Regions from separate parts of the Homo sapiens genome. Here region 1 is linked to region 2. Evidence: promoter capture Hi-C in human tissues and cell types (Jung and others, 2019). All regions are on one chromosome and are shown on one strand. The core of a region is centred on a gene start or on the middle of the fragment in contact, and the rest is flanking DNA. Distances in the headings are between cores, read along the strand shown.

The links. Contacts are between HindIII fragments. The study calls those that stand out against the background at their distance.
Region 1: a contact is called between a fragment that was not itself captured here and the fragment with the promoter of TGM1 in region 2, in 1 of the 25 tissues and cell types used here (spleen).

The regions. Positions count from the first base shown.
Region 1 is chr14:24,037,188-24,042,726 of GRCh38, forward strand. It overlaps the pseudogene DHRS4L1. Among named protein-coding and RNA genes, the nearest start is that of CARMIL3, 12 kb to the right of the region's middle. The HindIII fragment of the contact is 6,357 bases long and covers 547-5,539 here.
Region 2 is chr14:24,259,858-24,264,824 of GRCh38, forward strand. It overlaps TGM1 (transglutaminase 1), which reads right to left and starts at 3,320. Exons shown (of 15, transcript NM_000359.3): 1 at 3,232-3,320; 2 at 2,177-2,497; 3 at 1,838-2,026; 4 at 593-841; 5 at 83-201. The coding sequence starts at 2,495. RefSeq lists promoters at 2,495-4,967, 2,495-4,248, 2,503-2,698, 3,259-4,925, 3,308-4,967 and an enhancer at 3,795-3,803. The HindIII fragment of the contact is 4,546 bases long and covers 3,158-4,967 here.

The sequences.
Region 1 (5,539 bases), core at 2,475-4,974, 220 kb before region 2:
TGCTAGATGCCAACTCTTCACAAAACTAAAATACAAATGTAGGTAAAATGCTAATGGCTGACAAGTGCAAAATGTGTAACTCTTCCTCCCAAGGCAATATTTACATTTTTGACCGGAGACCATCTTTTCACATGCACCCCAAAAAATAATTAAGGATAGAATTTTCAGAATGATGTAGACTAGTAAGAAAGAAACCTGGAGGCAGGGCTGTTCTGAGTGAGACCCTCAAATCACGGAAGTGGCTGCTGCTGCAAACCCAGCTCATTTCTCACCTCTCAGTCCCAAGAGGGGATGAAGCCTGTCACCCATGGTGGGAACTGTAGAAAGTGATGTCAGTTCTTGGGAACTGAGGCTGCAGTCCAAGATGATAATAAAAATAAGTAAAGGAACGCCAAAAATGGCTGTGCCATTAAGCCTGTTTTACACGTAGTAGAGACACATGGAGGTCATATAGAGAAAGAGCCAGAATTCAAAACCGGGCAGTCTAACTTCAGAGCCCATGCTGTCCATCTCTTCCCCTGCACAAGCCTTAGCAGTCTTTGTCTCTGCTCACAGGATCGGCTTCGCCGTCGCCCAGCGTCTGGCCCAAGACGGGGCCCACGTGGTAGTCAGCCGCCGGAAGCAGCAGAATGTGGACCAGGCAGTGGCCACGCTGCAGGGGGAGGGGCTGAGCATGACGGGCACTGTGTGCCATGTGGGGAAGATGAAGGACTGGGAGCGGCTGGTGGCCACAGTGAGCTGCAGGGAAATGGGCACAGAGCCAGGAGGTGGAAAAGGGAGCCAGCCTGAGCCTCCTTCCCTGCTTTCCTGGACAGCATTGGTGAGATCCAACGCAGTGATGTTAACTAAAACATAACAGTGTGTTCTGCATACCCAACCAGCCCACCAGCACGTTTTTATTGTGTGCCTTTCTATTATGTCCATATATTAAAGTTGGAGAATAATCCCATCCCAATCAGAGAATGTTAAAACATTCTAATGCTTCAACCCTGCATCATCCCTTGCATACCCCAAAGAAACCGCTGGTACTGGTTCTCCAGTAATTTTCAACCTAACTGGACAGATGAGAAGGGTAAATACAATCACAAAATAGATGTTCCCACCCATGAGCTAATAAACATTCCCCTCTTCTTCAGCTTACAGAGTCAAGTCCCTGGGAACTTCAGGAAGCAGCCCACCATGTTTCAACCACTTACTATGTGCCATTTCCTGTGTTCAGAGCCTTACACAGGTTATCTCTAGACCTGACAACAACCCAAGCAAGGCAAGGACTATTCTCTCGGTCTGCAGACGCTGGCTCAGATAGCTGGAGCAACTTCCCAAGGTCCCACAGCCAGTAAGGAAAGACCCAGACCTCCCAAGCTCCCTTCCTTTATTGGCTGCCTGTGGACTACCAGGTACTGGACTTTAGTCTCAAAGAAAGTATATAAGTCAGTGTCACAGTTAGTAGTGGATACCAGCCTTCCAGCTGCCGAAGGAAATATGAACCATCCAGCAAAGCAAGCTCCTCTTCCCTTGAGGCTCAGGATACACACTTTATTTTCCAGAGTGGAAGGGAGAATCTACCCAAAAATGGAAAGTACAGGGTTGTGCTAACAGATTGGAAGGTTGGCAGAAATAATTTGCATAATCTTAGAAGAGGAGGATCTTAAGCAATAGTAGACAGTAGCATGGTAGACAGTATAGGGTAATTCCGTTTTTAAGGAACTGTCTGGCAAATGCTCAAATGTGCATTGGAAAGAGCCAAATGTGAGTCCTAGAAAGTCACCTTGCCTGGCCTAGGCTGGTGGACAGAGCCCAAGATTGGGGCCTTGATCCTGATGGTGGAAGGAGCCGTTTGGGAGTCTGGGTCAATTAGTGACTAACCATATCACATGTAAGTAGCAATGTAATGTGAAAACCCTGTTGGGAAAACATCCTGTGGCCCCCACCAGGTTCACTTAACATGGCCTACAGGCCTGGCCCAGAGGTGGTACTTGAGCTAAACCTTAAGGAATGGATGGGAATGGACAGATGGAATAGTGACGAGGTTCCAGATAACTCTGCAAAATGAGCAGACAGCCAAGGAGGAACTGAAGGAAAGAGAGGAGCACTGTCAGGCCACAATGGAGAGCACAGGCTCAGGAGTACTGCTGGGGAAGGGGCTGCATTGGAAAGATAGAGGCCATGGGCCTCCATATCTTTTTTTTTTTTTTTTTTTTTTTTTTTTTTTTTTTTTTGTGACGGAGTTTCACTCTTGTCGCCTAGGCTGGAGTACAGTGGCACCATCTCGGCTTACTGCAACCTCTGCCTCCCAGGTTCAAGCAATTCTCCTGCCTCAGCCTCCTGAGTAGCTGGGATTACAGGTGCCCACCACCATGCCCAGCTAATTTTTGTATTTTTAGTAGAGACGGGGTTTCACCATGTTGGCCAGGCTGGTCTTGAACTCCTGACCTCAGGTGATCCACCCACTCAGCCTCCCAAAGTGCTGGGATTACAGGCGTGAGCCACTGCGCCCGGCCATAGCTTCTTAAAAGGATACGTTAAGGACCTTAAAAGGATATAGCCTCTTAAAAGGATATGTTTACACACTCTTGTAGCAAATAAGAAGCCATGTGAGGTTTTGAGCAAGAGAAAGATGGTTATTAGGAAAGCTAATCTGGCTCTGGTAGGAAGGATATACAGAGGAGACACCAAATCCAGGGCATCAGTGAGGAAGCTGTTGCTGTCGTCCAGGTTTAGAGCAGTGGCGGTGGGACTGGAATAGATGTGCCCAAGAGACATTCAGTGGAAACGAACCAAGATTTTCCAACCCCATGTCAAAAAGTGGGAAATAGAGAAGTCAAAAATGACTCTCAGGTAGTTTGTATGACCATTGTCAGAGAGGAGAATGATAGAATACTTGTCAGCAATTTGAAATGTCTTCTGCCAGTTGTCACATGTTACCCTGCAATGAGAAAAGCCACTGCCCTGAGAATGGATACTACCCAGTGGCCTCCTCATCTGCACACCACGAAGCTTCTCACTGGTGTTGTAAGTGGAAACCAGAGTAGCTGCCTATCTGCTTGATTATATTTTTTCTTAAAAATGTATAACTATCAGAACACAGAACAAACAGCTCCTAACCACTTTAGTGTAGTGATCACACAATTTAGAACACTTAGAAGACATCTTTTTCTTTTCCCCCCAGAGACAGGGCCTCACTCTGTTGCCCAGGCTGGAGTGCAGTGGCATGATCATAGCTCACTGTAACCTCCAACTCTTGAGCTCAAGCAGTCCTCCCCCGTCAGCCTCCCAAGTGGCTAAGATTATAGGCATGCACCACCACGCCAGTTCATCTTTTAAATTTGTTGTAGAGTTGGGGCTTTATTGCCCAGGCTGGTTTTGAACTCCTGGCCTCAAGCGGTCCTCCCTACTGGCCGTACCAAAGTGCTAGGATTATAGGTGTGAGCCACCACACCCAGCCTCATTCATCTTTTATGGTTTGCTGTCTCTGTTCATTCAAAACCCAGCCTCCTCCCATCTCTGTGCTGACAGACCTGGAAGTAGAGGGGCATGGGGTATGCAGCAGAGTAGAAAATGTCTCCAGGTGATTCTGGAGCAATCCACTGTCTTCTCCCAGCCCAAACACACGTGCACTGAGCACAGCACACATCACTTATTAACTTATTCTGCACCTCCCTAGTAACAAGTACATTGGTGAGACTTACACAGAGCCAAGGCAGGTGACTTGGCTTTGTGCCAGGATACCAAAATTTAAAGGGTGCAAGAAAGTATTCATACTGGTTTTAAAAGAGTACTTGACTTTAAATTTTGTTAGATTTACACGTTGACAGCCCAGGCATTTCTTCAACTGTGTTGAAGGTTAGCACCTAGTTAACAAGAATAATTAGTTAAAATGGGAAGCTAGCAGATGGTGTACATTGTTAATAACACCCCTCCGTGGGCCAAATCCGGAGCACAAAATTGACCAAGGGCCCATGTACTGCTACTTGCCCAAGGCATCAAAATTGCCAGTTCCAGGCAAATGCAAAGTCTGGTTTCAGGGTGGCTTTGTACTGAAAACCCTTGTTGGCAGATTCTGCTTGGCCATTCATTACTCTAGCACATGCCTCACTACCTACTTATAACTTATTAAGGAGGTGAGATGTTGCCTTTCTTGGCTTTCTCAGTTTAAATTTCCCTTTCTGCCTTGAATCTTTCATGCCTCCAGGTCAAAAGAGAGAGACAGAGACAGGGAAAATGACATCATAACCAAATATGGAATTGCTTTAAATTCAGGCTGGTATCTTCTCCCATCATGGCTCTCCTGGGCAGCCGGTTTCCTAATGACCCCAGCTCACTTTCAGAGGGCTCTTACGAATTAGCTCTGTGCTACAAAGTGGGAGACTGACCTCAGTTCTTCCACCACTAACTAGCTTTATGCCCTGAACAAATCACTTTCCCCAACACGGAATAAGCAGGCCTCCTGTTCTTAGCTAGCCCCAGTGTGTTACTACTGAACTATATGATCTTGAGAAAATTCCCTGAACCTGTTTCATCATCTCCACCTTAAGGACATTGGAATAGATGATCTCAAAGGCCCCTCCAGGGTAACTTTCTACAGCTCTATTTAAGCCAGTTTTTCCATTCAGGTAAGTGTGGCCAGATTGACTTTGAAATAATGGTAACTTATTCAAGAAGAACTGGACAGTAAGCACTTGGAGAAATGTGGGTGGAACTCAGTGTGAAAGGAAGAGGAGGGGTCTGGAAATAGATTTTGGGGTGAGATTTGAAATCACGAGAATGAAGGAGCTCCCAAATGGGAAAATGTAAAGAAAAGAGCATAGGGTCAGAGACAGCCTTAGAAGAATAGGAGGTGGGAAGAAAACACTGCAAAAGAAATAAGGCCAACTTCCTGGTGGCTCACACCTGTAACACTTTGAGAGGCCGAGGCAGGCGGATGGCTTTAGCTCAGGAGTTCCAGACCAGCCTGGGCAACATGGCAAGACCCTGTCTCTACAAAAAGTACAAAAATTGCCCAGGTGTGATGGCACGCACCTGTATTCTCAGCTACTTGGGGGGCTGAGGCAGGAGGATGGCTTGAACCCAGTAGGTCAAGGCTGCAGTGAGCTGGGATCATGCCACTGAACTCCAGCCTGGGTGACAGAGGAAGACTCCATCTAAAAAAAGAAAGAAGCCAACCTTAAATGGTTAGCAGCAGATCTTAGGGTAGTTTTCAAAAAAGATGTTTTAAGAAATAGAAGTTATTTTGACGATAGTTCCTAAGAAGGAAGATTTGTTGTTGTTGTTGTTGTCATTGTTGTTGTTTTTTTAAATATAGGGATAAGGTCTCCCTATGTTGCCCAGGCTTCTCTCAAACTGCTCAGTTCAAGTGGTCCTCCCACCGTGACCTCCCAAAGTGCCATGATTCCCGGCGTGAGCCACCACGCCCCGCCCAGAAGGAAGTTTTTATCAACGTGAATAAATGCACCTCCCTTACTTACTGCAGCCCTGGTCCAGACCTTACCCCTCTCCCTAGGCTATGAAGCTTCATGGAGTTATTGATATCCTATCACTA
Region 2 (4,967 bases), core at 2,070-4,569:
CAGCACCCTGCTCCAATACCCCAGCCCCCACACCCACCCCAGCTCCTCTGGGTGTATGTGACCCTGGCCAGCCGCACCATACCTGGCCGTAGTTCCAGGTCCGCTCACCAATCTGTGCTTCGGTCCCGTAGTAAATTCTCCCAGACTCATTAAGAACATACTCCTGCCGCCAATCCTCATGGTCCACGTACACAATGTCCTCTGTGTCCCCAGAACACACAAAACTGGTTCCCTCCAGTTCTCTCCCTGGGCCTCACCTACTTCTGGCCAGTTCTGCAGGACTCATGTCCACAGAAGAAAATGCGGGGATGCCCCTAGCCTGACAGGACTGCTGTGGGAGGACACGGGGAGCATGACAGATGGTGGAGGAGATTGGCTGTAGCCAGGGGCCTTTGCCAGGAGAGGTGTGGCTGGCTGTGTGACCCTGGGCTGGCCACCTTTCTGCACCAGGCCTCGGTCCTCTCATCTGCCCAATGGGAGGCTGGCTTCTCCTGGGGTCAGGCACCTAGGCACCCCGCCACATCCGAGGGCAGGAAGCCCTTCCCTGTCTTTCCCTCCCATCTACCCTCTGCTCCAGACCCCAGCTGCTCACCTGGGCACCAGGGGTTGAAGAGGATGTAGATCTCATTGCGGGGGTCAAAGGGCAACTGGAACTCCCCAGCGTCTGATTGTGTGCGGACTGTGAACTGAAACTTGCCGATGATGGCGTTGGGGGAAGTGTGGACCCGCAGGTTCAGATTCTGCCCACTGGCCTTGACCACCTGGGCTTTCCAGCCTCCACTGCCCCCCTTGCCCACTGGGATGATCACGTGCGTGCCCTTGCCCACCTCGGGGTTGTTTCCTAGAGTAGGAAATCAGCAATTAGCTGGCAAGGCCTCCCTGAGGAGAGGGGATGGAGCCTGGGACTTCTCCCGGCCCCACCCACAATGTGTATGAGCCACTGTGTATGTCCCTACGTTGGGCCATCACCTTATTCTCTGACAGTCTCCCTTAGAGCAGCTCTGTCTCCACCCAATGCTTGCCCACATGTTAGGGCAGTGCCGCAGTCCAACATCCCAAACCTGTTCCCCTGACACTGAACTCTGAGGTGGGGAGGAGAGACGAGGGCTCCTGTCACCTTCTGCCTGCCTGACTATCACAGTGCCTGGGCTGGAGGGGCAGATCCACCTGCCCCGTATGAAAGGGCAGTCCTGATCCTGAAGGCCAACCCTGCCTGCTTCCTGGGGCTGCAGCTTCCAGAGCCCAGGGCATCCCTGGTGGAGGTGGTAGGGGTTCCTGGGAAATTAAAGGATGAGGTGGGCAAGGTTAGGCCCTAATCAAAGGGTAAAAGGAGTCACCTGCCCCAGGCAGCAGCATAATCACCAGCCTGAGAAGTCAAGCTACACCAAGCAACGCGGTAAGGGAGGCACCTGCCTTGGGTCATGGGGACAGAGGGACAGAGACAGAGAGAGACAGAATTGGCAGAGATGGGGGACATGGAAGGCAAGAGGGAGAGAGAGAGATAGAAGAGAGAACCAGCCACATCCTGGGGAATGAGAACAGATGCACAAAGGACAGAGCAGCAATGCCGAAGGAGGCACCGAGGCAGGCCCTGAAGAGGAGTACTCTGAGACCGATGCCCCAGGAGGCTTGAGGAGGATGGGCTTGGGAAAAACTGCAACACCAAGACCCTCTCTGAGACACAACCCCAGGGGCACACCCACACACTTGCACCTGCCTTATCTGGCAGAGGTGAGGAGTGGGGCAGGGAGGAGCCTAAAGACCTCTCTGACCCTAATGCCAGCCTCTCCCCACCAAACATAGGGCCTTCACCCGTCCCAATCCAAGCCCCACTGACCGATGAGTAACTCAAGGGTGATGCGATCAGAGGATTCATAGGTCCGGGACAGGAGGAGGAGCATATGGAAAGGCTGCCCGCGGCGCACTATCAGCTCGTCGTACTCATACTCGTCTGTGTGGTGCTCTCGGCGGTTCTGGTCCGAGCGCGAGCTCAGCAAGTCCACACCGTTCACTACTAGCATGCCCTCTGCAAGGACACAGCTCCGTGTCAGTGAAGCCCCATGAGGAGCCCAGGCCCTTATCATTAGCTTCCTATCCCCCCCAGAAATGCCAGGCTGAGTCTCTGGTCCCATTAAAGCCTTTTAGCTCTCAGCTGAGGAGGACAGACCGGCCTCACCTCGGATGGTGCCATCTCCAGCTGCATTGACACCGCTGCCCCGGGATACAGGCCGGCGGGAGTCTGAGCCCCGGGAGCCAGGTCTTCGAGTGCCAGAGCTGGACCCTCGACCCCTGGAGTCAGAGGGTTCAGGTCCCCAGTCGTCATCTGCCGCATTTCGGCATGAACAGCAGCCACAGCAGCGAGCCCAGAAGGAACGGCCTCCTCCTCTGCGAGAGCGTCCGTCTGGCTCTGGCTCTGGCTCTGGAGATGGCGTGGTAGGGGGCTGCAAGGGGTTGCCACCCCAACGGCCCACATCGGAACGTGGCCCATCCATCATGCCTGTTAGGAAGAGGCAGGGTGGCTCCTTAACCCAGGTAGTCCCAGCCAGTTGACCCAGAAACCCTCCATCCAGACAGCTGATTCAGTCCCACCCGATGACCGAAACAATCCCACCTTGGCCCAGAGATTCTCCAGACACATCCAGAGACCTTCCGCGAAGACCATTCAGACTCACCCAGAGAAGCTTCTCATGCTGCAGAGAAAAGCCTTCCCCTCACCCCCACCAAACAACATCCGAAAAACTGCCCAATGAAGAAACCCACTCAACGATCCATCCCAGGAAATCCACATAGTTCCCTGCATGGACACTTGTCCCAGCCTCAAGACCCAGCTGCACACACATCAGAGTGCTCCAGCATCCCTGGGCCTGGTCCGTCCACCTGCTAGCTCTGCAGTCTAGAGGTGCACAACACTGACAGCTTCTAGAACTCATTTCTTAGCAGAAATCCCCCAACTCAAGGTTCCTCACAAGACAGACAAGTGACCCCGGGGCCTGTGGTCCTTGGCATTCCCAAGTCAGGGAAGACCCCACTTGGGGCTGCCAGGAGGGGTAGGGCATGGCAGGTGCCCGGAGCCTGTGCACAGGGAAAGCAGAGTCTTGGTGTTGGGAACAGCCTAGCTGGGGCTGACAGGTACACAGCTGGCCCACACCCCACCTTGCTGGATCCAGGCACGGCCTCTGATAGTGTGGGCCGCCTGGACTCGGCACCACAGTACCCGTGGGAGCCCCTCACCTGGCAGCAGTGTTGGCAACCGCAGTACTGAGTCCTGGGGCTGAGATGGAACAGGTCAGGATGGATGGGACAGGACCCACAGACTGGATGCCGCAGGGACAGACCTGGTAAGTGACTTATGTGGGAGGGAGGGGCCAAACTGCTGTAGGGGGCGGAGAGAAGAGGCCAGGCCTCTGGGCGGGAAATGGGGAGAAGATGCTAGGGAGGGAGCAGGGGTGAGGTCTGGGGGCTTAGGCTGGGCTTTGGTGGGAGCCACCGCTGTGATGGCCCCTGGCACCAGGCTGATTCCTACCAGACTGGGCATGTGAGGAGCCCCTTCTCCCGGATGAAGAAGCTGCAAGGGCAGTGGGGCAGGCAGGCCCTTCCACCCACAGCCCTGTCTGGCCGACCTTCTGGTCCCAAGCTTAGGCTGCCTACCTCTGCTCTCACAGGCTCCTGCTGCCGAGTTCTGTGCAGCCCAAGCCAGGCTCAGCCCTATGAAATTGGCCCAGGGGCCTGGTCCTGGAACTCATCCTGCCCAGGGAGGTCCTGGGATCCCAGGTTGCAGACTGGTGACATCAGCAGCCAGGCCCTCAGACTGGCTCCACCAGCTAACCCCTGACCTGCTGGCTCTACCAGATATTCTGACTCCCTCCACCCCCAAGTCTGTCCCTTCTTTCTCAGCTGCTCTACAGCCCCAGGCATGAGTGAGCTGCCCTCAAGTTTGGGATTAGGGAGATCAGAGTAGGAGCAATCTCATTTCACGTCCCCCACCCCCGCTGTAGCCTCGGGGGTTAGGGGATGTTTAGGCCTTTCCACTCAGGCTTGGGTGGGAACTGAGTCCCCCTTCCAGGGGTACAGAGTACCTTTCTCTCACTGAGAGGAGTCTCTGCTCAGTTGGACTAGAGGATTCCCTTTTCTCCAACCTGGAATTCTTCCTGGGAATCCAGACCAACCGGCTCAGGCACCTGTGCTGTGTGCATCCTTACTCCACCCCGTCACTGGGGAAACACTGAGGATGGCACCAAGGCGATCCCAAGGTAGAGAGGAGGAGGCTAGGCATCTTCAGGGAGGCTCTCCTTGGGTCTTGTCCTCAGGCCCGTCAGCCAGGGCCTTCTTCCTTCTTTCCTTCCTTCCCACTAGTGTCCCAGCTCTGCCCATGGGCCGCCTAGCAGAAGACAGTAAAAACAGGCCGACAAGAAGACACAAGGAAACAGAATCCAGGAGGGGCTGTTTGGTGATGCATCAGGCAGGGAGGTGCCGTGGGGAGTGGGGACAGAGAGGCCCCAGGAACTGGCAGGGAGCCCTCCACACCCACACTGCCTTTTCTTGTCCAGCTCCAAGCACCAGAACCTGCCCGGGGGTGGGGGCAGGTGCCCCACCTCCAACACCCTCAGTAGACACACCAGTGGATATAAACTTCCAGGCAGGTCAGCCAGAGGGCTTTGTGCAGGGGCTGCGGATTTGTGCATCACTGCAGATACGGGAAGGGGCAGGGCCCTGGCTGTCCGGACGTGTGTGAGCACATGTGGGCCCAGGCAGATCCCAGAGAACCAGTAGGATGCCTTTGTCACACTCTCTCCCTAGCTTTAATCAATCTTTCTCTCCCCACCCAGCCAGGTTTGAGTCAGTGCCCTAACCCCTGAGCCAGTCCCCTCCCCCCACCACCACTCAGGACTCTCTAGGTCAGGACAAGGTGTGTACATGGTATGTGTGGGGGGACACCATGGGAGCAGACACTCAGCTCAGGACCTCAA